Linked DNA regions of Homo sapiens: regions 2 and 3 are each linked to region 1. The links are contacts of gene promoters, found by promoter capture Hi-C in blood cells and fetal thymus (Javierre and others, 2016). All regions are on one chromosome and are shown on one strand. The core of a region is centred on a gene start or on the middle of the fragment in contact, and the rest is flanking DNA. Distances in the headings are between cores, read along the strand shown.

Evidence for each region. The method cuts DNA at HindIII sites, captures the fragments that hold promoters and counts their contacts. A CHiCAGO score of 5 or more calls a contact.
Region 2: the fragment with the promoter of BIN1 here is called in contact with a fragment that was not itself captured in region 1 in 2 of 17 cell types (M0 macrophages and M1 macrophages); the score reaches 5.9 in M0 macrophages.
Region 3: a contact is called between the fragment with the promoter of PROC here and a fragment that was not itself captured in region 1, in 1 of 17 cell types (total B cells). The highest score is 5.4, in total B cells.

Annotation. Positions count from the first base shown.
Region 1 is chr2:127,284,475-127,288,479 of GRCh38, forward strand. It overlaps ERCC3 (ERCC excision repair 3, TFIIH core complex helicase subunit), which reads right to left. Exons shown (of 15, transcript NM_000122.2): 8 at 2,229-2,543. Among named protein-coding and RNA genes, the nearest start is that of ERCC3, 7.7 kb to the right of the region's middle. The HindIII fragment of the contact is 1,319 bases long and covers 2,097-3,415 here.
Region 2 is chr2:127,105,172-127,109,176 of GRCh38, forward strand. It overlaps BIN1 (bridging integrator 1), which reads right to left and starts at 1,983. Exons shown (of 19, transcript NM_139343.3): 1 at 1,689-1,983. The coding sequence starts at 1,772. LOC105373605 (a long non-coding RNA gene) reads left to right here and starts at 1,974. Exons shown (of 4, transcript XR_923311.4): 1 at 1,974-2,644. RefSeq lists silencers at 1,831-2,040, 1,922-2,216, 2,051-2,110. The HindIII fragment of the contact is 12,156 bases long and covers 1-4,005 here.
Region 3 is chr2:127,415,754-127,419,758 of GRCh38, forward strand. PROC (protein C, inactivator of coagulation factors Va and VIIIa) reads left to right here and starts at 2,674. Exons shown (of 9, transcript NM_000312.4): 1 at 2,674-2,739. RefSeq lists enhancers at 1-397, 778-837. The HindIII fragment of the contact is 16,432 bases long and covers 912-4,005 here.

The sequences.
Region 1 (4,005 bases), core at 1,506-4,005:
AGAAAGACCTCCAATCCCTCCCTGGCCAGCTGTGAACATCTCTAGGTATCTCCAGAAACCCATCAGGGCTGAAGAGCTCTCATGCACAGAAAGAACCAGATGCTGGGGCCATTTTGACATTTTGAACACTACCTGTGAAAATGCCTCAGATTTCATTTTGTTCATAGTAACCTCTATTAGACTCCTTAATTTACCCTAATCTGTTCATCTTTATTTTTTTTTTTTGAGACAGAGTCTCACACTCTGTCACCCATGCTGGAGTACAGTTGCACAATCATGGTTCACTGCAGCCTCAACCTCCCAGGTTCAAGTGATCCTCCCACCTCAGCCTCCTCAGCAGCTGAGACCACAGGTGCACACCACCACACTTGGCTAATTAAAAAAATTTTTTTTTGTAGAGACATGTCTCACTATGTTACCCAGGCTAATCTTAAGCTCCTGGGCTCAAGCAATCCTCCTGCCCTGGCCTCCCAAAGTGCTAGGAGACTACAGGTGTCAGCCACCATGCCCACTCCTAATTTGTTAATCTTAATCCCTTAATCTGTTTTTATCAAAAAAGATTCGCCCAAAAAACTATACAGCAATAAAAGGAACAAACTACTGATAAATGCTAAGGCACAGATGAATCATTATGGGAAGTGAAAGAAGCCAGACATAATATATATTGTATGATTGTGTTTATATAAATTTTCCATAAAAAGCAAATCTATAGTGACAGCAGTTCAGTAGTCATCTGAAGCTAGATAGAGAAACAAAGATTGACTGCAAATGAGTACAAAGGAAATCTAAAACTGGATCATGGTGGCCGAATGCAGTGGCTCACGTCTATAATCCCAGTACTTTGGGAGGCCCAAGCAGGCAGATCACTTAAAGTCTGGACTTCAAGACCAGCCTGGCTAACATGGCGAAACCCTTTCTCTACTAAAAATACAAAAATTTGGCCAGGTGTGGTACTTTACGCCTGTAATCCCAGGGTGAGGCTGAGGTGGGCGGATCACCTGAAGTCAGGAGTTTGAGACCAGCCTGACCAACACGGAGAAACCCTGTCTCTACTAAAAATATAAAATTAGCTGGGCATGGTGGCGCACACCTGTAATCCTAGCTACTCGGGAGGCTGAGGCAGGAGAATCACTTGAACCCGGGAGGCAGAGCTTCCAGTGAGCTGAGATTGCACCACTGCACTCCAGCCTGGGCAACAAGAGCGAAACTGTCTCAAATAAAAAAAAATTAGCCGGGTGTGGTAGTACACACCTGTAGTCCCAGCTACTTGGGAGGCTGAGGCAGGGGAATCAGTTGAACCCTAGAGGCGGAGGTTGCAGTGGGCCAAGATCACACGACTGCACTCCAGCCTGGGCAACAAAGCAAGATGCCATCTCAAAAAAAAAAAGAAAAGAAAACTTGGATCATGGTCATGGTTGCACTGGTCCACAAATTTACTAAAACTCATTGGATTATATATTTACAAGGGGTGATTTTATGGTATATAAATTAAATCAATAGAGCAGCTTAAAAAAAAAAGGTTTGCCCATGATACTTGGAGAAGTAGGGCTTCTATTACATATTGACTAAGGATCAATATTCCGGGCTTCAAATAAAACACATCACCACCATTTTGGGAAGGGCTTTTCAGTGCTCCTAACCCAGTTTTTAGAGGGCCATTAAAAAACGGATGAAGCTGAGCAGCAAAAGGAAGATGGAGGAAAGAAAATATCATTTTCTAAATCACTACTGAGCCAGTGATTAAGCAAACTGTGAATGTGAACACTCCTGCCTGCATCCCACTTAAGAATTACTGGCCGGGCACGGTGGCTCACGCCTGTAATCCCAGCACTTTGGGAGGATGAGGTGGGTGGATCACGAGGTCAGGAGTTCAAGACCAGCCTGGCCAAGATGGGGAAACCCTGTCTCTACAAAAATACAAAAATTAGCCTAGCATGGTGGCAGGTGCCTGTAATCCCAGCTACTCAGAGGCTGAGGCAGAGAACTGCTTGAACCTGGGAGGTGGAAGTTGTGGTGAGCTGAGATCGTGCCACTGCACTCCAGCTTGGGTGACAGAGTGAGACTCCCTCTCAAAAAAAAAAAAAAGAACTATTAAAAGCTTTACCCAGCAAGCCAGCAAGTCTTTCTAGCCAGTTGGGTGGGCTACACAGCAGTCCCTTTCCCAACCTAACAACTGGAAATTGGTTTGTCTGTTCAGCAAGTGGACAGCTCAGCTCCAGCCTGCTTACCTGGTATGGTGTGCACTTCATCCAGGATCATGAGGCCCCACTCCTGGGTCTTGAGCCACTCCATGACTCGCTCGGCCTCCCAGGACCTTTTGGTGGTGTGGCCCAGCATGGAGTAGGTGCTAATGGCAACGGAGCAGCCGATGGGCTTGTCCTTGGCATCGGAGGTGAACCGGCAGATCTGGCTGTCGTCAATGGTGGACCACATCTTGAACTGGGCTTTCCACTGCTCCACAGAAACAGCTGAGTTGCCCAGCACCAGACAGCGTTTTCTGACAGTGCATGCAGCAGTCACACCAACCAGGGACTTTCCAGCACCTACAAGAAACAAGAGTGCAATCCCACCCAAGGACAGGTTGAAATGAAGGACAGGGACAGGCAGAATGACTCACAAGTACAGCAATCTAGGAAAATGTCTTGTAACAGTCCACATAGCTGACATCTGAGCGACACACACTGCTCCAGCCTGTTTTCTTCTTTATAATGAGGAGACATGCCCACTTCACATACATATGTGAGAAATGGCAGGCGCTGGGGCCTACTGTAGCACTTTACACACATCTCATTTAAATGTCAAAATCTCAAAACAAACCAGTGAGAAGAGAAATGCCTGTTATTGTTATTTTAAAGATAGAAAAACCTGGCTGAGCCACCATGCCACGGTGGCTCATACCTGTAATCCCAGCACTTTGGGAGGCCGAGGTGGGTAGATCACATGAGGTCAGGAGTTCAAGACCAGCCTGGCCAACATGGTGAAACCCTATCTTTACTAAAAATACAAAAAATTAGCCGGGCATGGTGGCGGGCGCCTATAATCCCGGTCACTTGGGAGGCTGAGGCAGGAGAATATCTTGAACCCAGTAGGCGGAGGTTGTGGTGAGCCAAGATGGCGCCACTACACTCCAGCATGGGCAACGGAGCAAGACTCTGTCTCAAAAAGAAAAAAGAAAGATTGAAAAACTAAAGCTGAGGAGTACTTTACCTTGCCCACAGCCACGGGACAGTGAAGCTACTGGGTCCCAGCATGCCTGGCCCACAGAAGGAGGCACTCGGCAAAAGACCACTATTATTATTACACAGCAAACGGGGCTGAGAATTCAGGGATGCGCTATGTGTGTACAGAGAAAATGAAATTCCAGGAGCTTCTGAGTTTACTACCATCCACCATTTGAAGATCAAGAGAAAAATCAAGCTTTTCCATTAAACAGAGATCCTTCCTTTATTATAAAAATACACTGTGAGTTACCAGGAATAAACGTAAATAAAAAAAATTTGTAAAGTGAAATAAAAAAGGAAAACAACATCAAAATAACCCTTGGAGTTTTGGAAAAAAAGAACCTCCCCTTCCCTGAAGACCTTGCCTCTGTAAGTCCTCAGTGGGGTCCCAAGGTGAGTCTGCTGTGGTCTCTGGCCAAGAAGCTAGGCTAGGACCTGACACTACTGGGATAAGTGGTCAAACAGGTGCCCAGGGGGCCACTCCTGCCTTTCCCTGGACCTGCACACCATCCTAGTCATCCAGGAACACCAAAGTTTCTGCGCTAGGGAGTCTCCAAATACACAACCCCTAAGGCTGATTCAAGAACAAGAACCTAACCCCACTAAGTGCAACAGCCCCTTGCCATCATTACAATCTCACCCCTCATGTGCTCTAATTTTTCTTCGCTGACTCTAGCACCACCCAAGGTTGTACACATCTGCTTACCATCTGTCTCTTCCCCAGAAGAGTGAGCTCCATGAGGTCAGAAGTGTTGTTCTAGCCACCATAATACCCCCAGTGTCC
Region 2 (4,005 bases), core at 733-3,232, 180 kb before region 1:
AAAGACAACCAGGGCAAAGGAGACACACCAAGAGCCTTGGGGAGCCAGGAAGGGGTGGGACACCAGTGGGAAGGGGGCAGGGAACACAGCTCAGCTAACCTCCCTTCCCATTCATCTCCCTGGCCCTTTAGGGAAGGAAGCAGGCTCTGGCCCAGGGCTGCCTGCTCCAGGCACACAGATGGATTACCCAGTCATGGCAGCCCGGAGCAGGGGTGGCTGCATCTGTGCTGCCACCCCCCCACCCCACAACCTGAAGTCTTCCCAGCCCCCAGCCAGCTATTCCTGGGGCTTTAATCCCTCCTCCTCCTCCTCCTCCTCCTCCTCCTCCTCCTTCCCTGGGGTGGGGGGTTGGGGAGCTGGGTCTGGGCAAACCTGGACTTGGCTGAGGGCCCTTCCTTCAATGCACACCCACCCACCTCCTTAGCCAGGAAACACAGGGATGAGCAGTAGGACTCTGAGGGAGGTATGGGGAAGCTCTAGGCGCCCCCCTCTCCCCCATCCCCCAGCAATCACGTGGTTGCATCCTTAGGGAGCCCGCGGGTCTCAGAAGCAAAAGTCATTGTTTATAAACAGCCACCAGGCCTGGCAGGGGAAGGCCGGCCTGTCCCTGCGCCTCCACCCGGCGGCCGCGCAGCGGGTGGGAGAGGGGGCAGGCCTGGCCGCGGGGCACTGGGGGGCCACCCTGGCAGAAACACAGATTCTGCAATCTCAGATTTCAGAGTTGGAGTCGTCAGGGGAAGTGGCGTCAGCAGCTGGCGTGATCCAATTCAATAAACCAGAGGTGGCTTGGGATAGACAACTGACCGGGTGCAGACCCCCGCCCCTCAATCTCTGCATTTCCTGCACGCTCTGGGCACCCTGGGAGGCCCCGGCTCCATCCCCCATTCCAGCTCTCCGCGAGGAGGGGTCGGGTTTCCTGTGGCGCCTTCCACGCGCCTCCTCCAGGCCAGCTCCCCACCCGGCCGTGGGCTCCCAAAGCCAGTGCCGCCACCCGCTCCCCGGCCGCCGGAAACGCTAAGCCCCTGCTGGGGCGAGGGCACCTCCTTGCGGGGTGCGTAGCCCTGGGCTCCCGGTGGGGCCGGGCTGGGCGGGAGCTTCCAGGCCGCAGGCACCTCTCGGGAAAGGAAACCCAATCCCTCCTTCGGCCCACGGAGAACGAAAGTGGAGAAGCAGTGGGAAGGAAGGAACTGTGGGTGCCGGTTCGAGAAGCAGCCTTGGGAGTCCGGGGGAATAGTGTCCCCAGGGGCAGAGGGACATACTCCCTCTCGCCCCGAGCGCCGGCCCAGCCTAGGTTGCCTGCATGGGCCTGGAGAGCTGAGGGTCACCACCTGGCCTCCCAGCCTCCCGGCCCTTGGCCTCCAAAGCGGGGTAGCCTGGAGCGCGCGCCTGAGAAGAGCCTGGAGCAGGGCCGGCCACTGCTGTGCAGCCGAGCCACGAAGGTGCAAAGCGGGGCCCTGTCCTGCCCCGGCCGGGTGTGGGGAGACAGAGGACGCAAACCTAAGAGGGCACCCAGAGCGCCGGGGAACGCAGCCTGGGGACCTCGAAGCCCCTCGAAAGCGCTCCTCTAGAGGTGACAGCACCAGATCCTGGCGAAGGACCAGGCCCCGGGGTCGGAGGATAGGGGGACAGGTGGCCGGGGCTCCGCGGCGGCTGGGACTCCGCGGCTGCTGGGGCTCCGGCTCGCTCACCTTCTCCTGCGCGCGGGTGAGCTTCTTCTGCACGTTGCTGGCGATCTTTCCCGCCGTCACCCCTTTACTGCCCATCTCTGCCATCGCGGCGCAGGCCTCGCCCGGTGGCAGGGGCCGCTCTCGCGCGGGGAGATCTTGCGCGCCGCGCTCCCAGCCCCCAGCCCCGGCCGCGCGTCCAGACCGGCTGCCGCTCCACGCCGCGCACCCGACAGCGGAGCCAACTGACGGAGGCGGAGCGTGCGCCGGACGGGCGAGCGAGCCAGCGAGCTAGCCAGCGAGCGACGCGGGGACAGAGGGAGGGAGAGGGGAGGGGCCGGGCCTCAGGCCGCGGTCGGCGCCCCCCGCCCGCCCCCTCCGGACAATAAGCTGCCTTTTAAAGGGCCACTCCGGGCGCCGGCACCGCCAGGTCCGCGAGGAGGGAGGGGCGCGCGCGGCGCTGGGGCTGCGGCGAGCGGGACTCCCCTGACGCTCCAGCTGCACCGCCCCGGGGCGGGGACTAATCCGCCGGCCTGGCGTCTTGGTCTTCCCCGCAAGCAGTAATCTCCTGCAACCCAGGAAAGGAGACTAGGTGGAGGAGAGGAGTGCTTTCGAAATCAAAGAGAAAGTGCGGCGAAGGGGGCGCGGCCCTGAACAGAGGAGCCGCGGCTGCTGGGAGAACGCGCCCGGAGCCCCCTCCTTTTCCAGGGGCTCACCTCCCGCCCGGTGCCCGGTGCCCGGTGCCCGACGCTCCGCCTCCTCCCAGCCTTCGGCCCTCGGGTTTTCGCCCGGATACCCTAGGCGCCTCCGGGACATCTCCACATCTTTGCCTACGGCGCCTAGCCCAGTACCAACCGGTGCTTGGTCTTCCCGTTCGCTAAAAATTTATTATAATAACAACAACCTAGCATTACTGAGTGCTTACTGTGTACTAAGTGACTTGACAGGCATTATTTCATTCGGTCTCCGTGGCCCTAGAGGTAGGTGCTATTACTGTTCCTACTTTACAACCAACGCGCCGGGATCGAGGAACGAGATCTCTGCCTCTGTCTCCCAGGTGCTCCACCACCATACGCCGGGTTGTCTCCTACCCCCAGCAGGAAGGAATGATTAGTGATCATTATTCCTGGAGAAGATAAGGTTATTGCTAACCAGCTTTGCCAATAGACCAATGACACTTCTTTTAAGTTAATAAATACGTATTGAGTCTGCTGATACCCACCCCCATTCAGCCCTAAAACATGTCAGGGGCTACAGCACTTTGCTGCCCCTGGAAATTTCTAAAGAACTGTTGATTGAGTTGAGCAGAGAGATAGGTCCCGCTGAAGAGGCCTAGACGTGTCTGGTGCACACACAGGAGCCAGGGCTATGGCCTGCAGGACCCGCAGCGGTCAGAGGAGCAGAGCTGGCCAGGGACAGAGGTCCCTGAGAGGCTTCCTGGAGGAACAGGAAGGGCTCTTGCAGACCACAAACCAAGCAGTTTGTACAAATGGAGAAATCGAGTCCCAGGAATGAGAGGTTCAGCCTGGGTTCACACAGGCCATTCCCTCTTCCCTGGAAGGCCCTCCTGCTCTTTCTCCGGCTACTCGGGGTTCTTCCACCACCGCTCAGTGCTGCCCCATGGCCCAGTGTGTTCGTCTGTCCTCTTCCGGGCCTATTATCATGATGTCCCTCGGTATCCCCCAGGGGACTGGTTCCAGCACATCCGTGGATACCAAAATCCAGGGATGCTCAAGTCCCTCATATGAATTGACACAGTATCTGCATATAGCGTACACAAATCCTCCAAAATACTTTAAATTATCTCTAGATTCTTGTAATAGCTAATACAATTTAAATACTATGTAAATAGTTGTTAACGCTGTATTTTTTATTTATTTATTTATTTATTTTTAGACAGAGTCTCACTCTGTCGCCAGTCTGGGGTGCAGTGGCGCAATCTGGGCTCACTGCAACCTCTGCCTCCCGGGTTCAAGTGATTCTCCTGCCTCAGCCCCCCGAGCAGCTGGGACTACAGGCACGTGCCACCATGCCCAGCTAATTTTTGTATTTTTAGTAGAGACGGAGTTTCACCATGTTGGCCAAGATGGTCTCCATCTCCTGACCTCGTGATCCTCCCGCCTTGGCCTCCCAAAGTGCTGGGATTATAGGTGTGAGCCACCGTGCCCGGCCTTGTTTTTTATTTATATTATTTTATTGTTGTAGTCTTACTTTTTATTGTATTTTTCCAAATATTTTCAGTCCACAGTTGGTTGGATCCATGGATGCCCAACCCACAGATGCAGAGGGCTGACTGTATTCTTATTCTGCAGGAAGACAGACTGAGGCGCCGCTGATGTAG
Region 3 (4,005 bases), core at 1,424-3,923, 130 kb after region 1:
GAGCTGAGGGCTTTGGAACCCCGCCTGCTCCGGTAGTTGTGGCTGGCCTTGCCCCACACACATTTGGTTCTAGCTCCTTTGCTTGGGTCTTCATCCATGCAGCGAATTCCTTAGCCACAGGTGTCCCTCTGCTCTCTAACTCACAGCGAGCTCGCTGCCCAAAGTCCTGCTCCGGCTTCCTGGGTGGACCTGACCGCGTTCGGGTGCACGTGGGGCGACTCACACCTGACAAGTAAAGCGGGTGAGGCCGCGCCTGTGAAGGGCGCCTGGCTCCTCCGCAGGAGCGGTGCGGCGCGGCGCCCCCGGCTGGAACCAGGTGTAACTGCAGAGACCCTGGGATCGCAGGAACGGCTGGCGGCAGGACTGTCCCTACCTCGAGAAGGTGACGGGGTTTCCTGCGCTGCCAGCCGATGAGGCGGCCGTGACGCAGCCCGCCGTGCAGAGTCCCCGTCGGCCGACAGGCGTGCAGAGCTCTGCAGAGGACCCTTCCGCCCTCTGGGCAGCCTGCCAAGCCGTGGCACCCCCAACCCCCAGCACTGGGCACTTGGGAGCATTGCAGCCGCCCTGGCTCGTACCGGTGCCGGTGCTTTGGGCACCTGGGCTGGTTTGGACATGGGTGCCCCGGGCAGAGTCCATTTATGCAGGTCAGAATCAGTGTGTGGAGCCTGCATAGACTTGCCCTGGAGCGGCTGCCTGTGCTGGGGTGGGGAGGAGTAGAGGGCGAGAAGTTGGTGGGGAAGGGAAGCGGCGCCAAAAGAATACCCACAACATCTTGCACCTGGAAGGCAAAGCAGAGGGCAGTGATCTCTGCAGACTTGCGGGGGCGACGCCTGAAGCAAACAGGGACATACAAGCTGGTGCCTTCTGTGGTTGTGCATGGGGTCTTCATGCTTCCTGTCTGAGTTCCCAGAAGCTTGTCTCTGCTTTTCTAGGCAGCTGCCACAGCCTGTCACAAACAGCTCCTGGTTCTCCACTTCTCATAGTCTCGATTTCAAAATCCATTGCCTCACCCTCCACCTCCTCTCCACCTCCACCCCTCCTAGCACCTCCTGACTGCTTGTGTTCTGTGTCTCCCCACTGTCTCCCAACCTGGGGTGGGGTTGGGGGGGATGTCTTTCCTCCTGTCTGCTCTTTGATGTCCAGCTGAAGTGTCACCTCCTACAGGCAGCCTCCCCTGGCTATGCCAGCTTGTACTGATTGCCCTCTCCTCTGAATTCTGTAAGCATTTCCTATGTGTACCTGCCCCTGGGCAAGGTGGGCCTGACTTGTTAGAGTGTTAGAGTTTTACCCTGTTCCTCTAGGAGGGCCTGGTACCACCACAGCCCAGCATGGTGTGGTGCCTCAGCAGGAGGCATCTGGTTACAATCAACACAAGCTGTTCCAGCCAATTTAAAGAAACTTCAGGAGGAATAGGGTTTTAGGAGGGCATGGGGACCCTCCTGCACCCGAAGCCAGGATGTGCCACCAATCATAAGGAGGCAGGGGCCTCCTTCCGCTGCTCCCTGGGACTCTCTAGGTGTCCGTGGCCTCAGTCCCCCTCTGCACACCTGCATCTTCCTTCTCATCAGCTTCCTCTGCTTTAAGCGTAAACATGGATGCCCAGGACCTGGCCTCAATCTTCCGAGTCTGGTACTTATGGTGTACTGACAGTGTGAGACCCTACTCCTCTGATCAATCCCCTGGGTTGGTGACTTCCCTGTGCAATCAATGGAAGCCAGCGAGGCAGGGTCACATGCCCCGTTTAGAGGTGCAGACTTGGAGAAGGAACGTGGGCAAGTCTTCCCAGGAACAGGTAGGGCAGGGAGGAAAGGGGGGCATCTCTGGTGCAGCCCGGTTCGGAGCAGGAAGACGCTTAATAAATGCTGATAGACTGCAGGACACAGGCAAAGGTGCTGAGCTGGACCCTTTATTTCTGCCCTTCTCCCTTCTGGCACCCCGGCCAGGAAATTGCTGCAGCCTTTCTGGAATCCCGTTCATTTTTCTTACTGGTCCACAAAAGGGGCCAAATGGAAGCAGCAAGACCTGAGTTCAAATTAAATCTGCCAACTACCAGCTCAGTGAATCTGGGCGAGTAACACAAAACTTGAGTGTCCTTACCTGAAAAATAGAGGTTAGAGGGATGCTATGTGCCATTGTGTGTGTGTGTTGGGGGTGGGGATTGGGGGTGATTTGTGAGCAATTGGAGGTGAGGGTGGAGCCCAGTGCCCAGCACCTATGCACTGGGGACCCAAAAAGGAGCATCTTCTCATGATTTTATGTATCAGAAATTGGGATGGCATGTCATTGGGACAGCGTCTTTTTTCTTGTATGGTGGCACATAAATACATGTGTCTTATAATTAATGGTATTTTAGATTTGACGAAATATGGAATATTACCTGTTGTGCTGATCTTGGGCAAACTATAATATCTCTGGGCAAAAATGTCCCCATCTGAAAAACAGGGACAACGTTCCTCCCTCAGCCAGCCACTATGGGGCTAAAATGAGACCACATCTGTCAAGGGTTTTGCCCTCACCTCCCTCCCTGCTGGACGGCATCCTTGGTGGGCAGAGGTGGGCTTCGGGCAGAACAAGCCGTGCTGAGCTAGGACCAGGAGTGCTAGTGCCACTGTTTGTCTATGGAGAGGGAGGCCTCAGTGCTGAGGGCCAAGCAAATATTTGTGGTTATGGATTAACTCGAACTCCAGGCTGTCATGGCGGCAGGACGGCGAACTTGCAGTATCTCCACGACCCGCCCCTGTGAGTCCCCCTCCAGGCAGGTCTATGAGGGGTGTGGAGGGAGGGCTGCCCCCGGGAGAAGAGAGCTAGGTGGTGATGAGGGCTGAATCCTCCAGCCAGGGTGCTCAACAAGCCTGAGCTTGGGGTGAAAGGACACAAGGCCCTCCACAGGCCAGGCCTGGCAGCCACAGTCTCAGGTCCCTTTGCCATGCGCCTCCCTCTTTCCAGGCCAAGGGTCCCCAGGGCCCAGGGCCATTCCAACAGACAGTTTGGAGCCCAGGACCCTCCATTCTCCCCACCCCACTTCCACCTTTGGGGGTGTCGGATTTGAACAAATCTCAGAAGTGGCCTCAGAGGGAGTCGGCAAGAATGGAGAGCAGGGTCCGGTAGGGTGTGCAGAGGGCCACGTGGCCTATCCACTGGGGAGGGTTCCTTGATCTCTGGCCACCAGGGCTATCTCTGTGGCCTTTTGGAGCACCTGGTGGTTTGGGGCAGGGGTTGAATTTCCAGGCCTAAAACCACACAGGCCTGGCCTTGAGTCCTGGCTCTGCGAGTAATGCATGGATGTAAACATGGAGACCCAGGACCTTGCCTCAGTCTTCCGAGTCTGGTGCCTGCAGTGTACTGATGGTGTGAGACCCTACTCCTGGAGGATGGGGGACAGAATCTGATCGATCCCCTGGGTTGGTGACTTCCCTGTGCAATCAACGGAGACCAGCAAGGGTTGGATTTTTAATAAACCACTTAACTCCTCCGAGTCTCAGTTTCCCCCTCTATGAAATGGGGTTGACAGCATTAATAACTACCTCTTGGGTGGTTGTGAGCCTTAACTGAAGTCATAATATCTCATGTTTACTGAGCATGAGCTATGTGCAAAGCCTGTTTTGAGAGCTTTATGTGGACTAACTCCTTTAATTCTCACAACACCCTTTAAGGCACAGATACACCACGTTATTCCATCCATTTTACAAATGAGGAAACTGAGGCATGGAGCAGTTAAGCATCTTGCCCAACATTGCCCTCCAGTAAGTGCTGGAGCTGGAATTTGCACCGTGCAGTCTGGCTTCATGGCCTGCCCTGTGAATCCTGTAAAAATTGTTTGAAAGACACCATGAGTGTCCAATCAACGTTAGCTAATATTCTCAGCCCAGTCATCAGACCGGCAGAGGCAGCCACCCCACTGTCCCCAGGGAGGACACAAACATCCTGGCACCCTCTCCACTGCATTCTGGAGCTGCTTTCTAGGCAGGCAGTGTGAGCTCAGCCCCACGTAGAGCGGGCAGCCGA